2 separate regions of the Homo sapiens genome follow, and region 1 is linked to region 2. The links are contacts of gene promoters, found by promoter capture Hi-C in human tissues and cell types (Jung and others, 2019). All regions are on one chromosome and are shown on one strand. The core of a region is centred on a gene start or on the middle of the fragment in contact, and the rest is flanking DNA. Distances in the headings are between cores, read along the strand shown. Region 1 has its middle 230 kb from the start of XYLT1. Region 2 holds the start of XYLT1 (xylosyltransferase 1).

Region 1 (5,023 bases), core at 397-2,896, 240 kb before region 2:
CCTAGATTTGGAAACTATTATAATGAGGTCTTCGATTTGACATAGAGGCCCTACCTACACACTTCTCTTTGTCTGCAAAGGGGAGAAGGGCACTTTGCATATAGAGGCCAGGGGTTTTCTAAGAAGACGCTAACATTCCCACAATACTTGGTCCCGATTATTTCACTTAAGACGTTCTACTAAGAGGGCTGGAGGGTACCTAACTAAGAGTCAGTGGAAGAGCAGAGTAATGGGATAATCATAATGAAAGTAATTATAAGCATAGAGAGAAACTAGACCAATGGTCTCTTTTTGGCACTGATCCATAAAAACATAGCAAATGGTGGTTCTGGGCGTCTAAGATACATAGACCTTAGGAAGACTTCTCATCTTGTATGTCGGCAGTTAGCTTATGGCAGGAAGCAGCTGTGTGTTAGCTAAGTGCTAAGGTCCAAAGCATCTAAGGTTTCAACCTATGAGAAGGCTTCAAATAGGGCTATCCCCCCGTGGCCTGTTTTTCACCAATGCTACAGTTAGTAGACTCTAAACTAAGCCATTCTGGGGGTGCCCGAGGATCTCTACATTTCTAATTTCTCATACCAGTAGACCAAGAGGTGGCCCAAGTGAAACTAGTCCCAACCCAAGGAAGTTTAAACTTGCATGAAATGGGACTGTGCCCAATCATGACTACTCCAATCTTTCTCATTTTCTAGAATACAAGATAAGGGAAGTTGTATGCGTGTACATAAGTTTGTGTTTTTCTTATTACAGAATATGCCAAGTGTTCAAGTTGTAGTCTATTATTAAAACTTAACAGTTTTTAGTAAACTTTTGTAATCTATAGGGCATGTTCCATAGGGGTTATTGGCTTTCGACTTGAAAACCAATACAGTGTCTGCAAACATGTAAACAAACTTGCCTGTGGGATAACTTTTTGCACTATGGTTAGACTATATTGGGTGGTGTGTGTAAATGGTTAAGTGAGGAAATCAAAACACTTTTAACCTGAAGGACTGGGCTTATTTAGATTTGGAATCCTCCTAATCAGCACACTGTCAAATAATTGTTTTTTTCTAAGAAAAGATTTTTGCCTAGTACCTATGACTTCTAGAGGACCAATGGCTTCTCCTAAGCTAGTATACTTTGGACATCACCTACAAGACCAGCCTCTACTAAGCAACTAACTTCCCTCGCAATGGTCCAGACACTGAAATCGCTCTAAATTGAACCTGGGCTTCTTCATACCAAGAAGGTGGTAATCACATTTTTAGATGCATCAAGAGGAAAGGATTGGGACTTTTGAGAGATACAGATTTGATTTTTGGACTGGCCCACTAATAGCAGCGTGTGAGACCTTGAAACCAGCAACGGTGTTGGAACCATCTCCTCCTACCAGATTGAGGGAGCTGACTATGCATATAACTTCCCAAATCCAAGCTCAGTGATGTCATGGTAGTAGCTTGAAATCAGGCTTTGTATGGGTGCTTTCTCCATAGAAATTGGCAAATGCTACAGAATCTTGGCTTTTTGTTTCAGAGATCCATCTGTTAAAACATTTATTAGGCCACCACTGCCTTGAATATTGTGATATGGGGCCAGACAGGAATTAAGGACTCTGCACTTAAATTTATGTTTTATTCCTCTCTCCTCTCCTTATCTCTTTTTCTTCCTTCCTACCTTCTCCCTCCTTTCCTCTTCTTTCCTTCTTGTGGTAATTTTAATGAGATGCATTACAGGCCTGCAGAAATTAAATTAAAATCTGAAGTCTTTCCCTCTTTAAAGTTTTCCCCCTTGCCATCTTCAGAGACTAAGCCTTCAGAATGATCTTTATTCTATTGTTACTAATGAAGTCAGCTGTAGGGCTAACTGTAAATCTTTTGAAGGTAATTTTTTTCTGACTTCTTTTATGTTCTTCTCTTTGTAGCTAGTATTCTGCCATTTCAGTCTGACATGTCTAGATGAGGGGTTTCATTGTTTGTTTTGCTTTTCTTCCTGCTGGATATTTATTGGGCTCCTTGACTCTGTGTTTACTCTCCTGTAATCATTCTGAAAAATTCTCATAATATCATCATAGGTTTGCTTTTCTTCATTCTTTCTGCCTTCACCTGCTTGAATTCTGATTATAAATACGTTAGAATTCCCTGGTCTGTTTGGGTCGTCTCTCAGCTGCTGCTTCATAATTTCTTTCGACTTGTCTTCCAGTTCCCCTATTCTTCTACATTTGTATCTAATCTGAAGTTAAACCTGCTCATTGACTTTTTTAAACCATTTATATATGTTTTATCTTTAGATTTTTGATTTCTTGTCATCTATTTAATAGTCTTCTGTTTAATGAAGGCTGTCTGAAGCCTGTATTTTATTTCATTAAACGTCATAATTATAGTCCTAAGGCAACACACAGATACAGAAAAACACACAAGTCAATTGTATGGTTTAATGAATTTTTATAAAGTGAACATTACAGCTGGGCACGGTGGTTCTTGCCTGTAATCCCGGCACTTTGCGGGGCCAAGGTGGATGGATCACAAGGTCAAGAGATGGAGGCCATCCTGGCCAACATGGTGAAAACCCATCTCTACTAAAAATACAAAAATTAGCCGGGCATGGTGGTACACACCTGTTAACCCAGCTACTCTGGAGGCTGAGAGAGGAGAATTGCTTGAACCCAGGAGGCAGAGGTTGCAGTGAGCCGAGATCACACCACTGCACTCCCGTCTGGGCAGCAGAGCAAGACTCCATCTTAAAAATAATAACAACAACAAATAAATAAAAATGTAGTTTCAAATTGTTTTTTTTTAATTTAAGGAATATTTTCTTGAAATAGCATTTTTAGGATTTCTTCTGTTCCCTTGCTTTGGTTTTCATCTGCACAAATTCCTGCTATCCCTGTGTTCAGCCTCTGTTGCCTGTTTTCAGTATTTCTTAATCTCTCAGCCTTTTTTCTGTTTCTTTTTAATTTTTACTTTTAAAATTGTAACATATTTATTTATTGGTGGTTGCAAAATGTTGATTGTCTTATTTTCTTTCAATGGCTGTGGTAACAAATTGCCACAAACCTAGCTATTTAAAATGACACAAATTTATTCTTAGAGTTCTATAGGCCCAAGGTCCCAAGTGGGTTCATTGGGCTGAAACTAAGGAGTTCGCTCCCTTAAGAGTCTCCAGGGAAGAATTTGTTTTCTTACCTTTTCCAGAGTTGGGAATTGGATTCCTTGGCTCATAGCCCCTTCACCCATCTTCAAAGGCAGCAATTTAGCATCTTCAGATTTCTCTGTGCTTTCACTACTGTTTTGTCTTTCGTCTCTCTGATTCCCTCCTATAAGGAACCCTGAGATTACATCTTGCCCATCAAGATCACCTCCCTATCTCAGGATTCTTAGTCACACCTGCAAAAACCCTTTTGCTGCCATATAAGATAGCATTCATAGGTCTAGGGATTAATATTTGGACAATTCAGGGGGCTCTTATTCAGCCTAACACGATAATGTTCTGATGCTATGATTTGTGTTTCACTTATCAGTCAAGCACTTTGACAGAGGCCGTTTATTTCGTTTACTATGTGATTACCCAGTATGTTCACATGAAAAATGCAGAATATGTGCTTATTTTTCTTTATTTACCAGTTTTCAATATAATGAATTGGTTTCTTGTCATCCCCAAAAGGTATCAGTTTTTTTGTTGTTGTTTGTTTGTTCTTTTTACAAATTGCATTATGAACTCATAGGCTTCAACATACTGGAATTTTAATTCACTACCCCTTATTATCTTTGTTGAAGTTCAACTTCTCCCATCTTTGCCAATGCAAGCCTGTTTGAGTTTGCTACTGGGCCTTTTCTATGTGACCCTTGTGGTCTTTGACAGCTGTAATCCTATCTGGAATTATACTGTATTCCAGGCTAGTCCTGTATATTTCTGATCCCACACTTGGAATCAGCTATTTCTCCAAGAAGCCCTGGTGTCTTTTAGATGAATGGTATTTCAAGACCATAACTTGGGCACTTAGGGATATTCATTGCTGTTGAGTTGGTTGTTGTCTCTAGAAGTTTTTAAGAAACAAATTATAACATAATATACAAAATATCTCATGGATTCATATTGATATTTCTAATTCTAAGTCAAGATTTCTGAGGTTTTATTTTAAACCTCATTTCTATTATATCAATAAGTACTCTTCCATTCCAAGAAACTTAGTTTTCAAGGACCTAGAGGATGATAAAATTATAATTCCTCATTTTATCCAATTTTACGTATATAACAGTCCCTGAATAGTAATAATATAATAATAATCATATCATCTCCATTATGATTACTTAAAACACTTAAAATTTTTTGGTGTATGTTCTTCTTATCCCCTTCTTTTTTCAAGTTCATTGAGCTAAAATTTAGGGTAACAGCAAAGTTATCCATTTCAGGTACACAGATCTACGAATTATGACCAACCTATATAGTCTCACTATTCTTTTTTTTTTTTTTTTTTTTTTTTTTTTCTGAGACGGAGTCTCGCTCTGTCGCCCAGGCTGGAGTGCAGTGGCGCAATCTCAGCTCACTGCAAGCTCTGCCTCCCGGGTTCACGCCATTCTCCTGCCTCAGCCTCCTGAGTAGCTGGGACTACAGGCACCTGCCACCACGCCCGGCTAATTCTTTTTTTAATTTATTTTTTATTTTTAGTAGAGATGGGGTTTCACTGTGCTAGCCAGGATGGTCTCGATCTCCTGACCTCATGATCTGCCCGCCTCAGCCTCCCAAAGTGCTGGGATTGCAGGCGTGAGCCACCGTGCCCGGCCTAGTCTCATCATTCTTAATAGCTATACTATATACACATTGCCAGAGCATATAGCCTTTCATAATATTTCCTTCCCCTCTTTGTTTTCATTTTGTCTTAATTCTATTTACCTTAATTGATTTTTATTTGATGCTCATTAGCAATCATTATGTTATTTACCCTTAAGTTATTTTGATTGTCTAAAACTCATTCTACAGTAGATTACTCAGGAAAGGCTTAGAAAAACAGTATTTCTTGAGTTCTTGAGCTGTGATAAGTTTG
Region 2 (5,159 bases), core at 670-3,169:
GCGCTTACTCCCGTCCTGCCCTCATGAACCCTTAGCATTTTTGCACATCTCTACAGCAATGCTTATCTCACCATATATATATATATAATATTATATATATTTACATATAAATATATATATTATATATATGTTATATATTATATATTATATATATTATATGTACATATATATAAATATATTATATATAATATATTTATTATATACATTATATATAATATATATATATACAATATATATATATTTATATATACGTTTTTTAGATGGAGTCTTGCTCTGTAACCCAGGCTGGAGTGCAGTGGTGTGATCTCGGCTCACTGCAGCCTCTGCCTCCTGGGTTCAAGAGATTCTCCTGCCTCAGCCTCCTGAGTAGCTGGGATCAGGGGTGTGTGCCACCATGCCCGGCTAATTTTTGTATTTTTAGTAGAGACGGGGTTTCACCATGTTGGCAAGGCTGATCTCGAACTTCTGACCTCAGGTGATCCTCCTGTCTTGGCCTCCCAAAGTGCTGCGATTACAGGCATGAGCCACCGCGCCCAGGCCTATCTCACTATATTTTAATGATTAACATCCACATCAGGCTTCTCTAGACCTCAGGCTTGCTGAAGATGAGATTAAACCTCATTCACCTTTGGATGCGTGCACCTGGCCCAGTGTCTGACACAAGCTTTGTATTCACGGATGCTTGTGGAGTGGATGAAACAATCTCTTCCCACTCCCTGCCTCATTGTCTGATGAGCCTTCATTACACTCCACTTTCTTCTCTTTGTAAATTAGGATGAGGTGAAAAAGCACAGCAGACAAGATGCGAAGCATTCACGCCAAGTCCTCAATTCACAAACTGATTTGATCTGCTGTTGTATTCCCAGAGTGCTAGGTCCCGTATGGGACACCAACGCCATCCCATATGCTCACTGTTCTGCGCTGCTGTGTATAAAGCCCTGGGCAAGAGGACAAGGGAGGGAAAAACCAGAAAGACTGAGTCAGAGAAGGCTCGGGATGAAATTTGAGTCCATTGGGATCATTCTGCCTAAACGACAGAGGAGAAAGCTTGGGCTCAGGGAGGAGTCCTCCTCCTCCTGGCTCAAGGTCACCGGGACAGACCAGTCAGGATGGGAAAGAACTCCACTTTCAAGAGCAAGACCTGTTTCCCCAGGACCTGGGCCCTGTGCAGACAGGAAGGGGGACTTCAGGATGGATGGGGAAAAGGACACGCTGGGAGGCTGCGGGGCCAGCCTTTGGGGCTTGCATCCTGCGAAGGTTGAGTAACTCCACGGGTCTCCCTTTTGCCGCTATACCACTTGCCAACTGGGTTTGGAGTCTCTTGGCTTGTGAGTCCTCAGGGACCAGAGAAGTGACTCAGTGAACACTTAGTACATCGTTGGCACCGGGGATTGTGTGTGATTCAGGAGTCACTCACAGAGCTTGTGCTGATTAACTCCAGAAACTCACCCAAAGCCTCCTCCCCACCCCTTCAAGCCCAGGATGAAGGGATCAGACTGTGGCTCTGACACTCCTGAAATGTTTCTCACGTGTCCACCTGCCAACCGGTCTGGTACCGACAGAAGATCCCTGGACCGCGAACTCCGGGGCTAGGAGCTTCCTCCACGCACTGCCTCCTTCCAGCGGCCCACAGGGAAAACAGGACCTCGGGACCCCCTCTCTTCCTGACCTCCCCTGGATTCTGAGCGGGCCCACCCTCAACCAAAGGTCCCCTGTTTCGCGGCCCCTGCCTCTCTTTTTCCGCCTTGGGAATTGTCCCCCTCGCCCCCCATCCTACTCCCACTACGTCCTGAGGGGTGTCTGTCTTCTCTGATCGCCCCCACCCCCTTCCTTTCCCTCCTCCTTTTCCTCCCTCGGCTCCTCCCCCAGGCCCCGCCCTCTCCGCCTCGGCCCGCGTCCCCCCGGCGCCTTCCCCATCACCCTCCCCTCCAGCGGGGACAGGGGTGTGGGGAGGGGGGCGGCGGCGGCGGCCCGAGCGGGAGCCCGAGCGGCAGCCGGCGGCCGCGGGAGCTGCGGGGAGCGCGGGGGCGGCCCGGAGCGTGCCGGGGTCCCCGCGCCTCGCTCGCCGGCCGCGCTCCGAAGATGGTGGCGGCGCCGTGCGCCCGGAGGCTGGCCCGGCGCTCGCACTCGGCGCTGCTCGCGGCGCTCACGGTGCTGCTGCTGCAGACGCTGGTCGTGTGGAATTTCAGCAGCCTCGACTCCGGGGCCGGGGAGCGCCGCGGGGGCGCAGCGGTCGGCGGCGGGGAGCAGCCGCCCCCGGCCCCGGCCCCGCGCCGGGAGCGCCGGGACCTGCCCGCCGAGCCGGCTGCAGCCCGAGGAGGAGGAGGAGGCGGCGGCGGAGGAGGAGGAGGACGGGGGCCCCAGGCGCGGGCGCGGGGAGGCGGCCCCGGAGAACCGCGGGGACAGCAGCCGGCCAGCCGGGGGGCACTGCCCGCCCGGGCTCTGGTAAGATGCCCTTTCGGCTCGCGCCCCGCGGCGAGGGAGGGAGGAAGGCAGCCCGACCCCACGCCCCCCTAGCCCTTGAACTCGGTCATCAGACTGGGACTCTGCAAGCCTACCGACTCCACATCGCCTCTTGCCCCGGGAAGCCGGGTGGGGTCCCTGCCAAGGCTCAGGGGTCGTGGGCTGCCCCTTTCAGAGTCTGAGCACGGACCCCTTGGGGTCTGGGGGAAGTTTTCTCCAGCGGGGGCGCTTTGGGGGTTACCGGAGCCTGGCTGGGTTCCTGTTCCCCATCACTCTTGCTGGGGACCCCAGGTGACTTGCTCCGTGCGTGTAGGTCTTGGTGACTCGCTCCCTGCCTGAGTGAGTGGATCTCCCCGGATCCTCAGCCGCTGTTCCTGGGCGGTTGTCGCAGCAGCATCTCTCTGGTTTTTGCCGAGCTGGGTGCAGACAGTTGAGCCCTCTGTTCGTCCTGGCCTGCGATGAGGGCTGAGCTGGGCGTCCCAAGTCCCCGACCATGCCCCTGAATCAATACTCAGTCCGGGGTGTCTGGTCTTACTTTGGGTCTTCTGTTTCTCTTCTCTGGATGTTTGAGCCTTCCGTCTTCACCTTCTCTGTCTCTAACCTTGCCGTCTCCCATGCCCTCTGTGACTTTATCTCCTCCCCATCTCCAGTTTCAGGGCATGGCTCCTTCTCCTAGCTGGTTGTCTCTGTCTTTCTGTCTTGTTGCGGCCGGTTCAGGTCACCAGCTGTGTGTCCGACCACACCGTCAGGGCTTCCACTCCTATGGGATTACTTTGCCCTTCGTGGGTGTGAACAGTCAGGGCTCTGAAACTGTTTTTTCCGCAGATCTGGGGCCATCTGGGTGGCTGGGTGGGGAACTGACTTGTCTTCCTACCCTGTCCCTAACTTCTCCAGGGATACCTTTCCCACCTTCTCTGGGCTGCCTTGCCCAGCCTACTGAGCTAGGAGCAGGAGCACATGGGGCAGGAGGCCGGAGTCCCCATTTCAGAGCCAAGGTCTCAGTTCTCCAGGGGCGTGAGTTCTGCCTTAGGGCATAGCCAATGTGTTGTGTGTCTGTCTGTTTCTTCATCACACTACTTGTCTGCAAGGATTTGCCTAGCCGTTAAAGGATATTAGACACCAGGGGGATGGTTTCAGGATCCTGAAGACTGAATGCATATTTCTATCATTTGTCACTTTGGAAGTCCTCACTGAAGACTGCCTTAGTACACAGCGTGATGCTTTCTGAGCTGCTAAACTTCTTCGGAGTCTGTGCGACCCTTTCTGCCGGAGTGCAGCTCTTCATGCCTGAGAACTGAGCCAGTCCCAAGACGTGATGTGATGGCATTTCACGTTGCTGTGTGGGTAGCAGGGAGAAGTCTTTCCCTCATTTGCGGGGAGAATAGTGGCGTGAGCTGCCTGACGGAGAACCAGAACATTCCTAGTGTCCTGCGATCTCTTCTTTACAGAGAGGGGTACTCTGAAACGCTGCCTTTGAACTCTTGGAGTTGATAGTGATGGGTTCCCGCAGAAATGCAATTAGAAGTTCTTTGTGCATCCAGAGCCCAGGAGGTGGGGTGGGAGGGTTGTGGGTCGTGTCCTGCTGGTCCAGTGTAAGAACGTGTAGGGGAGACATGGTGGGGGAAGCCTGGGGCTTACTGTATCATTTGCATCTGGGGGTCAGAGTGGGTTCAGGAGGTACCTTTAGGATGCATGTAGCACCTGTTGAAACAAATGAAGAGAAGGAAGGAGGCAGGGCTAGCTGATTTCTTCATAGGTCCCCGGCATTGTGAGCATCCACCCCCAGCCCCTCTCTGTGTGCTCGGCTCAGTGTTTTACTCTCTCACACCCAGCTCAGCCTCTGAGAGATCTGCGGTTGGGGAGGTAGGTGGGAACACACTATTTTCCTTTTTACTTCCTTTTGGAATTGCAGTTCCAGCAGCGGAGGTGCTTTGCTTTTCTGAAACTCTGCTTCCAACTGCAAGTTCAGTTACTCTCCCCAAATCTGCATGTCCTAATGTCTCAATTTCTTTACCTTCCAAGATGGACATTTATGTATTTTTTTTTTCTTTTGGTTCTCTTCTCTTCTTGGTGGCTGTCTACCATGCTGTTGACTGTTGTCTCTTGGGGCTTTGTATTTTATTTCATTTGCTTGTCTCCTTTCTTTCCTCTCCCCCCACACCTACTCCATGACCTGCTAAATCCTGAAATCACAGTACAGACAGGCTGGCTGGAGCCCGGGGTCTGTCCTACTCTGACTGTGCCCACCCAGTTCCTGCCCTTCCATGGAGCTCCAGGAGACCAGAAGGGGGCAGGCTGTTCCCAAAGTCTGGTATAGCTGGAGCTTGGGTTGCAGGCAAGGAGAGGACCAGACCTTTTCGCAAGCAATAGAGGCCGTTGAAATGTGCAGTTTGTTTCCAGACCCTGCGGAGGCTGCCAGGATGATGCTTTGGAGGGAGATTCAGGAGTGGGACATTTAAAGAAACAAATCCCCGTGATTTTCCAGATGGCTCTTGTAGAGAGGTGGTTAGACACATGCTTAGAAGAAGATGCTTTAGCTCAGTGCTCTGTTGCAGGTGGGGATGGGGTGGGTGGACAGCCTTGGCTCTTGCATGTAGAGGGAACCTGTGTCCTGGGTTGCTGGTGGGTGTGTTGCAGAGAGTGTCAGGCAGGCATTGTGTATAGGGCATTTCCTAAGCCAGATCTTCCTCCTTCCT

The links. Contacts are between HindIII fragments. The study calls those that stand out against the background at their distance.
Region 1: a contact is called between a fragment that was not itself captured here and the fragment with the promoter of XYLT1 in region 2, in 2 of the 25 tissues and cell types used here (IMR-90 fibroblasts and lymphoblastoid cells).

Annotation. Positions count from the first base shown.
Region 1 is chr16:17,703,187-17,708,209 of GRCh38, reverse strand. No RefSeq gene overlaps it. Among named protein-coding and RNA genes, the nearest start is that of XYLT1, 230 kb to the right of the region's middle. The HindIII fragment of the contact is 4,995 bases long and covers 1-4,143 here.
Region 2 is chr16:17,467,720-17,472,878 of GRCh38, reverse strand. It overlaps XYLT1 (xylosyltransferase 1), which reads left to right and starts at 1,919. Exons shown (of 12, transcript NM_022166.4): 1 at 1,919-2,445. The coding sequence starts at 2,083. LOC107987234 (a long non-coding RNA gene) reads left to right here and starts at 2,452. Exons shown (of 2, transcript XR_001752091.2): 1 at 2,452-5,159. It overlaps LOC105371106 (a long non-coding RNA gene), which reads left to right. Exons shown (of 3, transcript XR_933144.3): 3 at 775-1,872. RefSeq lists enhancers at 1,424-1,925, 2,700-2,749, 2,870-3,139, 4,735-4,804. The HindIII fragment of the contact is 9,248 bases long and covers 857-5,159 here.